4 separate regions of the Homo sapiens genome follow, and all the other regions are linked to region 1. Evidence: promoter capture Hi-C in 16 types of primary human blood cells and fetal thymus (Javierre and others, 2016). All regions are on one chromosome and are shown on one strand. Each heading gives the region's core, a stretch centred on a gene start or on the middle of the fragment in contact. The rest is flanking DNA. Distances are from core to core; before and after follow the strand shown. Region 1 holds the start of NDUFAF4 (NADH:ubiquinone oxidoreductase complex assembly factor 4). Region 2 has its middle 140 kb from the start of MANEA-DT. Region 3 overlaps MANEA-DT (MANEA divergent transcript). Region 4 overlaps MANEA (mannosidase endo-alpha).

The links. The method cuts DNA at HindIII sites, captures the fragments that hold promoters and counts their contacts. A CHiCAGO score of 5 or more calls a contact.
Region 2: a fragment that was not itself captured here is called in contact with the fragment with the promoter of NDUFAF4 in region 1 in 1 of 17 cell types (M2 macrophages); the score reaches 5.5 in M2 macrophages.
Region 3: a contact is called between a fragment that was not itself captured here and the fragment with the promoter of NDUFAF4 in region 1, in 5 of 17 cell types (total CD8 T cells, naive CD4 T cells, naive CD8 T cells and 2 more). The highest score is 7.1, in total CD8 T cells.
Region 4: a contact is called between a fragment that was not itself captured here and the fragment with the promoter of NDUFAF4 in region 1, in 9 of 17 cell types (naive CD8 T cells, fetal thymus, non-activated CD4 T cells and 6 more). The highest score is 16.2, in naive CD8 T cells.

What each region holds. Positions count from the first base shown.
Region 1 is chr6:96,896,486-96,899,447 of GRCh38, forward strand. It overlaps NDUFAF4 (NADH:ubiquinone oxidoreductase complex assembly factor 4), which reads right to left and starts at 1,406. Exons shown (of 3, transcript NM_014165.4): 1 at 1,181-1,406; 2 at 259-362. The coding sequence starts at 1,316. It also overlaps a transcript of KLHL32 not described here. RefSeq lists an enhancer at 1,229-1,328. The HindIII fragment of the contact is 8,617 bases long and covers 1-2,962 here.
Region 2 is chr6:95,434,831-95,437,792 of GRCh38, forward strand. No RefSeq gene overlaps it. Among named protein-coding and RNA genes, the nearest start is that of MANEA-DT, 140 kb to the right of the region's middle. The HindIII fragment of the contact is 2,095 bases long and covers 395-2,489 here.
Region 3 is chr6:95,564,463-95,567,424 of GRCh38, forward strand. It overlaps MANEA-DT (MANEA divergent transcript), which reads right to left. Exons shown (of 3, transcript NR_104136.1): 2 at 2,766-2,851. Among named protein-coding and RNA genes, the nearest start is that of MANEA-DT, 12 kb to the right of the region's middle. The HindIII fragment of the contact is 4,478 bases long and covers 1-2,962 here.
Region 4 is chr6:95,590,057-95,593,018 of GRCh38, forward strand. The region is part of intron 2 of MANEA (mannosidase endo-alpha); the gene reads left to right. Among named protein-coding and RNA genes, the nearest start is that of MANEA, 14 kb to the left of the region's middle. The HindIII fragment of the contact is 1,877 bases long and covers 629-2,505 here.

The DNA of each region.
Region 1 (2,962 bases), core at 156-2,655:
AATACTATGAAATAATTCACACAGTTGCTTGTATCAATACTTCCACAAGTTATTTTAGAATTCTGGTAAATATCCAGTGAACCAAGGCATAAGTGTCTTGCTGTCTTACACCAGTGTGCTTAAACTTTGCCAAGGCGTGTAGATTGATCACAACACACACTTGCAGAGCACTCTTTTTACTACTTGCCACACTTAATCATTTTCCTGAAGCCCCAAAATAAGTAAATTGTGTATTCACTTAATTAAACACACATTTACCTGCAAGGAAGACACAGGATCTTTGGAATCAACATACACATCTTTTAGAAACGACAGCAGCTTTTCATCTTTACGAGCAATCTCTCCTTTAACTTCTGGATAGACTAAGGAAAGGAAAAAAGTCACAATATTAAAATCAAGGAAAATTTCCTGTAATATCCTAAACGCTTAACACAAACGCTTTCTTTTATTTTCTTTTTTGAGTCGGAGTCTCGCTCTGTTGCCCAGACTGGAGTGCAGTCGCGCGATCTCGGCTCCCTGCAACCTCCGCCTCCCGGGTTCGAGAGATTCTCCCACCTCAGCCTCCCGACAAGCTGAGGCTACAGGCGCGCCACCACGCCCGGCTAATTTTTGCATTGTTTGTAGAGACGGGGTTTAGCCATGTTGGCCAGGCTGGTCTCGAACTCCTGACCTCAGGTGATCTGCCCGCCTCGGCCTCCCAAAGTGCTGAGATTACAGGCTTGAGCTACCGCGCCCGGCCTAACCACTTTAATTTTTTTAAAAAATAAACATAATCATTTGGACTGTTAGGAAAATACTTTAGATGGAAATCAAAATTCCAGGTCAGGCTCTGCGTCCATCGTCCAGTGAAGACCCCTAGAGAAAGCTCTGTGACCCTCTCGGATTTTGATTCCCTGTATCAAGTCCGTGACAGCAGCCGGCGAGGGCCTGGTTAGCGGGAGCACTGGCTGCTGCCTCTGGGTCTCGGAAGTAGGCGGGGCCGCCGACCTCACCGCGGGCGCGGAGGACAGTCTCAATGTCACCGGCCTGGCGGCTCCCCCTTCCAACGCTCCGCCAACCCGAGCGGCTGCGGCCGAGCAGGCTGACGCCGATCCCTCGGCCTCCGGACCCACGCTAGGGACAGCCGGGCAGCACAGGGACTCCGCGCCCCCGGGCCCCGAAACGCCCTCGCACCACTCACGACTAATCTGCTCTCGCAGGAGGCTGTTGGTAGAGGGGTGTCTGGGAGCGACAGAGGGCTTCATCTTGCTGATTTCCCGTTCCGCTCGGTTCTCTAGGTTGAAATTCCTGATACCGCGAATCACTAGTGCTCCCATCTCCTCATAACATTATGCGCTCAGGTTCAGGCCGCACGTGGGAACACCGGCGCAGGACAACTCCGGGACACCCGGAGCATGCGCACAAGTGAGGGGAAGCCCCGCCGCGGGCGCTTAAATGCGTGCCCGTCGCCCCCTAGCGCTCGGGAGGCCACACACCGCTTCTCTGCCCAGGGCATTTAAAAGGGAGCCCCTCCCTTCGGGGCGAGTGACGGCTCCCACGAGGGCCGCTTCCGGCGGGAGGTGGCGGGGCTTAAGTCCCCAGACCCACGGTTGCTTTTAACGCTGGAACTCCGAGGGAGTCACCCGGGAAGCTCTGTAAAGTTCTGTGCCGGGCCCTACCCCAGACTTTCTGATTTAATTCTTGTGGAGTGAGGCCCAGCATTGGATAAGACTCCACGTGATTCCAAAGTTTCAGTGAAGAGCTGAAAATCAAAGTCGTAAGGAAGTTGACCTTGAAGTTGTTTCACAGGGCAATGCCACCAAAGAGTTAGCCGATAAAAATGGAACTTACTGAACCAGGGTCAAACTGGGCTCTCAAGTTGCCCTTTCCTGCTTTTGTGAAAGGAAAATAATGAAAGGATGTTCCCTTTCGATGAGTATTTGTTCTCAGCCGCTCTCATTTAAATGCCTCTTATTTTCCTGTCCCCCCGCCTGATGCATTTTCAAGCCACTGTATTCTTTTTCCATTATTTTTTACATCCCGTTCTCATTTGACCTAATGGTATCGATTTTAGTTATACTTTCCCTTATCTTATTTTTGCTACTAATTTACTTCTCCATGCTACTAAATGCTGAGTCATTCCCTCTCCTATTTCTCTTCTCTCTTGCCTTCTTCATTCTTTTTAAGCCTCTGTGTAATTTAATGAAAGGAACAGACAATAAGACGTCAGAAAAAAAAAACAAACAAACAAAAAAACGAGTGTTACATTCACCTTCTCCGTCTCTCTCCATTTCCTGAATGGGTTACTGTAGTGCTGCTTTTATTTAAGACCCTTTAGAAATATTGTTATTAATCTAAAATAAAACCCACCAGGAAGGAAGCAGTAGGAAGGAAGTTACAGTATTTCTCTTACTGTGGCTGCAAAATCTATTTTTAGTGTTCTGATCTCTGCTTAGCAAAATGAAGTAGAGTGGATGTTTTTAACCAGCTTAAAGTAAGAAAATATTGATGTAAAGATAATCGAATAGAATAATAATAATAAAACAAGAATCAAAGAACCAAAATGAAGAAAGGGAAAGTTTTTTAAAAAGAAAACTAATGTAATCATTAAGTATAATGCTTAATCAGAGCAAAAGCACTGCAAGGAAGACGGCTTCAGCCACTCTAATTTAAATGCCCTTTATTTAATTATACTGAACATTTTTACAGGGATTGGTATTTGGAATTTATAGAAGCTGAAATCAGTGATCTCAGATAGCATTAACTGGGAAGTTATCCTGAAGGTGGCAGGCTGCTCCAAGATTTCTATCTTTGATACTTTTAAGCATGCTTGTGATTCAGGGCTTTTTAGGCACGGTATTTCTATTTCTATGGGTGCTAAGAAATTTTAATCTGCCTCATTATGTCTATGTGCTTTAATCATGGTAGCAATTCGACTCACTGCCTGTTAAAATATTTTAAAAGTGAAAATCTCATTTTCATA
Region 2 (2,962 bases), core at 192-2,691, 1.5 Mb before region 1:
GGGCACCTGTAATCCCGGTTACTCAGGAGGCTGAGGCTGGAGAATGGCTTGAACTCGGGAGGCGGAGATTGCCGTGAGCCGAGATCGTGCCATTGTACTCCAGCCTGAGCAACAAGAGCAAAACTCCGTCTCAAAAAAAAAAAAAAAAAGAAATCTGAATACAAACAAATGATGAAAATGTTATTCAAAAAACATTGGCAAGTGGAGTTTAGCAATATATTAAATACACTGAAGAAAAGTAGCATTTTTATCTAGAAATGCAAAACGGTTTAATATTTAGAAATCTATTAACATAATAAAATATGTTAAAATTCTATAGTAAATTAAAGGCAACAAATTGCATCAGCTCAAACATCAAATACATTTCCATTTTAGTCAAGAACAAGACAGCCAAAGCTTTTGCATCATTTAGCGGTGTTTTTTATGTGCTAGTCAAGAAAAGACTTGGAACAAAACATCATTAATATTAACAGATGATTTGACATTTCCTAACAAACCCAGAAGAATCAACCAATAAACTATTAAAAATTTAATAAGCATTTTTCCAGTATTTCAAAATAAATTAGATAAAATTTAAAATTAGACACTTTAATGATAGCAACAAATATGTCAACTTTTGATGAATTAACCTAACATGAAACTTTGACATTAAAAAGCACTGATAAATGAAAATTATCATGTCAACAAGTGAAATAAAAATACATGATACATTTATGCAGTAGACATGCCAATTAACATCACCATTAAAATTTTTGAAAACTATTTCTAAATATTTTATTAAACCATAAATTGATGAGAAAGCATAGTACATATTAAAATAAAAATAATAATGAGGATCTTGTGTTACAAACATGCTAAAATTTATCATAGAGAAGCTATAATATAACTAATGTTATTCTGGTACTAAAATATACAAATAGATAATGAAACATCTATGAAAGCCTCAAACTGAGATAATTATATAGAGGTGTTTTACAGCATTTTAAAATTCATTTGTATAAAAATAATATACAAGACTAATGTGATCAAATAGTACTTTTAAGGATGCTCGTTACAGCACTGTTTATCACGAGAAATATTAGAAAGCCTAAAGGTTCAACATAATATCAAGTATATTTTATTATCCATACATAAAATACTAAGTAATCATTGAATGAAATGGAAAGTATTACAATATATAATTAAGAAAATATAAATGTATAAAATATTTAGTATTCACCCAATTTTATTTTCTGCCTATTAATATTTTATTGTATATTTTATCAACACTTAGATTACAAAGTATATATGATCAAACTTTTAGGGAACATTTTTACAATGTCTTAATTTTTTCTTTGCATTGTCACTTGCAGATGTCTTCATAACAATCCATTGTTTAATATGCTATAATGTACCTTTAAAAAATGGTTTAAGTTGTTTTTCCTTTTCCCTTTTGTTGTTTTATCAGGTTCTGGAGATGGATGACTTTAACTTACACACTTATTGTTTGTGTATTCTTGACTAACTCACCTAAGATCTAAGCCTAAATAGTCTTCCCTGTTAATGGAAATTAAAAAGAAAGGGGCAATGAGGTTTTTACAAGGTTGAAATGAGGTGATGTACATAAAAGTTTTAGCATAATACTTGGCACATAGTAAGCACTGAGTGAACGGTAGCCAATTTTATTCAAACTATTACCATAAACATAGTTGTAGATAATTTTTGTGCAAATTTATGAGGTTTTTGCTCAGAAGAAATCTTAAAGGTAAAATAGCTGAGTCAAAGGTATAGTCATAAAATTTTTGATAGCTATTACTAAGCTGTCAATAGGGAATATTAGCAATGCAGTAAAGATCCTTTTGCCTAAGGCAAATGAAATGGCTTTCACTCCCTTTCTTTACCAGCTTTGGATATGTTAGAGATGTATTTTTATTTTTTAAATTTGTATTTACTACGTATACATAATAGTTGTAAATATTTATGGGGTACACCTGATATTTTGACACAGCAAAAAATGTGTAATGATCAAATCAGGGTAACTGGGATATTCATCACTTCAACACAATGTTCCTTTGTGTCAGGAACATTCCAGTGCCATCCTTTTAGTTATTTTTAAGTGTCCGATAAATTATTGTTATCTGTTGTTGTTCTATTGTACTACAGAACACTCAATCTTATTTCTTCTTTCCAACTGTATGTATGTACGCATTAATCATCCCCTCTTTGTCCTTCCCCCAAGCTACCCTTCCTAGCCTCTGGCATTTTACATCATTCTATTCTTTATCTCCAGGAGTTCAATATATTTTTTTTTAGCTCCCACATATTAGTGAGAATGTCTTTCAGTGCCTGGCTTATTTCACTTAACATAATATCCTCCAATTCATCAACGTTGTTGGAAATAACAGGATTTTATTAAAATGAAACAATACCAACTTTCTGGAAATGTGTACATTAAATATTGACAAGACATCTCTACATATTTTTCTGTGTTTTTTCATTTTTTTGCAGTAAGCTTATATTACTTACATAATCAAAAAATATTATTTATAAACATTAAATACTGAAACAAGTTTTTTTGCAGATGTTATTACTGTATTGTGTATCTAGAAAAGAGAGTTAACAGAAATACTATTATAACTAAGAAGATAATTAAGTGACCACATACAAGATGAACATATAGAAATCAACAGTTCTGTATACCATTAATCCGTGATTAAAAACTTTTAAAGAAGTTTATATTCAGGCGAAAATAATCATTTTAATGAAATATATATTTTCTAGATTCTTAATCTAGAGCCATTACATCATTCCTTCAAAGGCTATGTTTTAGTAATATATTTGTTATTATTACTTTTCATTGTAATTATATGTTTAATGTATTAAAATATTATTCTGAGATGGAATTTATAGGATTTACCTATGCAAAGATATTAGATAATGGTACAAAGAAAAGGTTTAAAAATGCTGAATATTCTAGAGAATT
Region 3 (2,962 bases), core at 247-2,746, 1.3 Mb before region 1:
AGAAATAATATTAGGACCCAATATAATATGTTTAGAACATGTGGGTGTGCACAGAGGATTGAGTGCAGTAAGCGCTTTACATGGATGCCTAATGTCAAATTGGAGAATGTGAGGTCAAGGAAACTAGAGGGAGAAAATGTTCAAGATGGATGGAGCTGAGTATAGAGCTGAATATAGCCAAGATATCAAGTATGGTATAGACTGAAAATATATTTAGTGCAAGGAAATCACTGGAGACTTTGTGAAAAGCAATTCCTGAGGAGTGCTGGGGGCAGTAACAATTGTACAGTAGGTTTGAGAAGTCAGAGAAGGTGAGAAAATGTTTCCCATGCCTTGCCAGCAACTCCATTAGCCTATATATCTAGAATGAACAATATAGAGTCACCTTTGATTCTTTTCTCTCATTTGTCTTCTGCTGCTCATTCTAATTGCACAATAACTCTTGGTTCTCTCTGGCTTCTCCTTGCCATTACCTCCAAAAGAGCCACTCTTGTTCAATCCTGCTTTGATACTTTCACACTACTACTCCATTCTTGTTTATAGAAAATATTCCATAATTAGTTATTATTTAATACCCAGTATAAATAGTACTTGTGTGAGTAACCGCCCCCTCCAAATAACTTTTCTCTGAACTCTTACAACACTTCATTGGAACCCTTTTAAATAACACTCATGACTTTTTGCTTTGAGTGAAGCCATCTACATGCATGTCTTATCCCCCTTCATAGACTGTTAACTTCATGAGGGAAGAAGTCTTATATTTTTATATTGTACATATATCCTAAAACAGATAATCTAAGTACATATTTTGGTTCTGCACAATTTTGGCCTATTGGACCTTGAGCAAGTCTTATCTAGGTCCTCTGAATATTTTTCCTTCCAAAATGTGATAATTTTCTATGCTGCCTACTTAATATTAAAGATTGTTTTCAGAATTTATAAGAGTAATGTAATTGAAAATGTTTTGAGAGTGATAAAATATAAAAGAAACTATTTTTATATTTTTACTATGATTGCAGGAGTTAGTAGTAGTACTGTTATGATTATTATGTACTGAGAATTGCCACTCTATTTAGACATGCAGCAATTCAGCCAATCAATACTTTAAAGGTTAATTTCTTCAATTTAGAGCATAACACCTACAGTGAAGTCTGCCATTTATTTTGATGAATAATTCATGGAACACATATTTTACTTAGAGATTGTTTCTTTCCCTAGGTGTTTATACTAGGAAATATAGCAACTGAATTTGATCAAGTGCTTGAGCCTAATTGATCAATTAATTTTTTTTTTACCTTTTAAAGTGCAATATTAATGTGTGCTTGTCGTACAAATACAAACCATTCTTAAAAGTATATATAAAAACTGAAACCCACTTTCTATGAAAAACACTGTTAAAGTGTTTGGTATGTTTATTTCTAAAAATTTAGACACATATACATTTGTTTTTTGTTGTTGATGTTCTCTCTCTCTCTCTCCTCATTCCTGTATGTATACATATTTGTATATGCCTATATATTTACATAATATAATTTATATTAAACGTACTTACAGATACTGGGGTAGGTGGAATAATGGGCCCCCAAATATGTACACATCCTATTGCCCAAAACCTGTGACTATGTTACTTTACATGACAAGGGAGCTTTGCACATGTGGTTGAGGTTAAAGATTTTGAGATGGGTTGGTTATCCTGGATTATTCAGTTGGACACAATATAATCTGATATCCTTAAATGTGAAAGAGGAAAGCAGATGAGTGGGTCGGATAAATGTGATATGAGAAGAATTGGATCTGACATTGCTGGCTTTGACAATGGAGGCATAGAGCCATGAGCCAGATAACATGGAGGCCCCTAGGAACTGGAAACTGCCTTCAATATATAGCCAGCAAGAAAACATATACCTCAGTTATACAACTGAAATCTGCCAAAAAAAATAATTGAACAAGCAAGGAAACAATCTCCCCAAGAACCTCCAGTAAGCAAGGCAACCCTGATGACACCTTGATTTTAGCATAGAGAGACCCATGTCTGACTTCTGACCTACAGAACTGTGAGATAATAAATTTGCATTGCTTAAGCCACTTAACTTGTGGTAATTTATTATGCCAACCATATAAAATTGATACAGATATATCTTTACATAGCTATCTACATAATTTTGCAAATTCATTCTTCTTAAAAACTATATATGGACATCTTTTCATGTCATTTACAAAGAGAGATCACTGTGTGCAGTTTTTTCTCATTATGGGTATAATTTTGTAGGAAAAATAGCTAAATATAGAATAGCTCACTCAAAGAGTAGTGCAGCCAAATTTCCCTTCAAGAAGGTTCTACCAATTAGTATTCCCACCAATAAAATGTGAGAGTATACATATTCCACATCCTGGCTACAACTGGATATTATCAGTCATCTTAATGCCATGGCCTTTGTCCTTTCAGGACTCAAAACTACTTTTATAGATATTGAGTACCTTTATTTCTTCTTTTTATGACTCTCCCATGTATTCTAATGAGACATTAGAGATCTACACAGGATTTTATAAGACTGTCCTCTTGCCCTAGTAGATTTTCTTACTAAGATGAATTGGCAATATAAAAGTTACTAATTCAGAAAATATTTAAGGACAATTTTTAATAAAAAGGTCCATACTCCTAGGTCTCAAAGATTTGTGCTTAAACTCAACTGACTAGGCAGCTAACTCTACACGTTCAAATGGACACTTCCTGCACCACGGTAGATAAAGTTACCTACACTTACCTCAAGTTCAAATTCACTCCTCAGTCTGTTGCTACCATGATCACCTCTTCCACTCCATGTTCTGAGAGTACTAGTTTCTAAGCGACCTAAATGAAAACAGAAAGGTGTCTTGGGATAATTTATGAACACCTAATAGCTAATATGCACTGAGATAAGCTAAGTCTCCAATCAAGTCTTAGAAAAGTCTTTCATGGAGA
Region 4 (2,962 bases), core at 317-2,816, 1.3 Mb before region 1:
AAGGAAAGGGATTCTTTCCTAGAGCCTCCAGAAAGGAATGTCATCCAGTCCAATACCTGGCCTTGATCTTAGCATATTAAGACCCATGTCAACACTCCTGACATGCAAAACTGTAAGGTAATAAATTTACGTTGTTTTAAGCAACTAAATTTGTGATAGTTTGTTATGGCAAAATAGAGAACTGCTACATTTAGCAAAACATAATGTACTCTATGACTTTAAAATTATCTTCCCATTGTTTCAGTTTAGCACTAAATATTTATTGATTTTCCATGACGTTCCAAGCTTGTGCTAGATTCTAGGGACATAAAAATGAGCAAGTCACATTTCCCAGTTCCTTTGTTTTCATCATTGTTGCTTTAAAAACACTGGATGGATTTCAACATTAGAATATTTCCTGAAAGTATGACATATTTGTTTTAGTAAGGTTACAATTCTTACTTCTGCATCTCCTGCCTTTAAAAATTTATACATAAAAGTAGAAGTCACAATGAGATGAATTAGACACATAAAGTTTAAATGTACCTAATAACATCTAATATGATGTCATAAAATTTCCTTTTATAATAACTATTTGCATTAAGTTTAAAGGTTATATTTATAACTGTAGAGTGGTGATATTCCATAAAGCTTTCATATTGCTATAGATGCCCAACCTTTGGCTACAAAAAAAATTTGAAAGTATTCATTGCAAGGAGACAGTCTACTTGCAAATAATATATACTTAATGTGTAATGTAAGGTCTTCACCACTGATATTCCCTATGTTTCCCTCCCATAGTTTGCTATTGTCGTAATTCTGTCACATAAGAAATGGTATTTTACTATCATTGCTGTAGGCCAGAGGTTGGCAAGCATTTTCTGTAAAGGACTGCCTAATATATATTTTTGATTTTGTGAGTCCCTCACTCTCTCTCTTTGCAACCACTCAGCTCTATCCTTATAGTGTGAAAATGGTTATAAGCAATAGATAGACAAATATATAGATGAATTGGCCTGTAAAAGGCAAGATTTGGCCGATGGGTCATAGTTTGCTGATCACTCTTTTCAATAATCAGTTGTTTTTCACAGTGATTAAAAGTAAGAATGTTTTTTACATTTATTCCATTTCTACTGTTCCCCATCCATATTTTAATGTAGATCCAAGTGTATGTCTAATATCATATTCTTTCTCTCTTAAAAATTTCTTTTATCTTGTTTTACTGGTCTCCTTGCAATGAATATTTTCAAATTTTGTTTGTAGCCTTTATTTTGAAAGATGTTTCATCACCTATGGAATTCTCAATGGGCAGGTTTTAGGGGATTGTTTTCTTTTGGAATTTTGAAAATGTATTCCATTTCTTTTTTTCTTCTTTTTCTTCAGTCTTTCATGGTTTCTGATGAGTAGTCTGCCGTAATTTAAAAAAATCTTTTTATATCCTCATTTTCTTGGATGGATATGTTTTGTTGTTGCTGTTGTTGTTTTCTGGCTGCATTTAATTTTTTTCTTTTTTTCTTTTTTCTATTTTGTTTTTTAGCAGTCTAAACATGGTATGGTTACTTGTTACTCCTGTTATTTTTTGTTATTTATCCTTCTTGGTGTTCTCTGAATTTTTAATCTGTTGCTTTGTGTCTTTTATTAATTTTGCTAAATTCTTAGTGATTATTGTTATTGTTTTATGAGATGGAGTCCCACCCTGTCGCCCAGGCTGGAGTGCAGTGGCCTGATCTCAGCTCACTGTCACTGCAACCTCTGCCTCCTGGGTTCAAGCAATTCTCCTGCCTCACCCTCCCAAGTAGCTGGGACTACAGATGTGCTCCACCACGCGTAGCTAATTTTTGTACTTTTAGTAGAGACAAGGTTTCACCATGTTGTCCAGTATGGTCTCGATCTCCTGAGCTCGTTATCCACCTGCCTGGGCCTCCCAAAGTGCTAGGATTACAGGCGTCAGCCACCGTGTCCAGCCTGATTATTTTTTCAAATAAACCTCCTACTTCTGGGTTTCCAATTACATGTGTACTAGAACTTTGATATTTATCTCGCAACTGTTAAATGCATTGTTCTATTGTTTTCCCCAGTCTTTTTTCTCATTATGGTAATTTGGATAAGGTAATTTCTTTTGACTTGCCTTGAAGTTTCCTGATTATCTCCTCAGCTCTGTTAATGAGCCTATTAAAGGCATTAATTCATCTTTTTAAGTAGTCTTTCATTCCTGGCATTTCTGTTTTATTTGTTCTTATAGTTCCCATATCTCTGCTGAAATTTGCCAGATCTTGTGTGTTAGCTACTTTGTCCATTAGATCCTTTAAGATATTCATTACAGTAATTTTATATTCTCTCTCTGATGATTCCAACGTATCTCATTTGTGAGTCTGTTTCTATTGATTGCTTTGTTTCTTGTCAGTGAATTGTTTTTCTTGCTTTTTTTTCTGTACCTTGTAAAATTTTGTTAAAAGTATGTCACCCTGGGTAAGATAGTGAAAATTGTGTTACGTCTAGAAATGAGCTTGCCTTTTTTTCTCTTAAAGCTTTAGTTTGAAAGAATGTTTGAGATGTTCAAAAGAAGCTCTAAATTTCCTATGAACACATAACAAGTTTTCTGGGGCTCAAGGTATCCAAATTTATCCATCATTATACTGTCTTCTTGTTATTAAGTGTTATTTATAATCACTTTTTAGGTGTTTTACTCTGCATGATGCATTCTCTCATTTGTGCTTTTTAAAACAGGCCTTATCCTACATTTTACAGATGTGGAAACTTAAGTAAAATAACTTACCTAAAGATACTCATCTATCAAATAACAGAATAAGAACTCGATTCTCTAGGCCTATCTGATTTTTATACCCTATATTCTTAACTGTTATCCTATTTGAATGCATCACTTTACTAACAACAAAAAAAATTGACTATCAATTATATTGAAGGTCCTGTAATAAGTGGCATGGAGGGGTGACATGAGCAACATGACATGAGTTTTTGCATT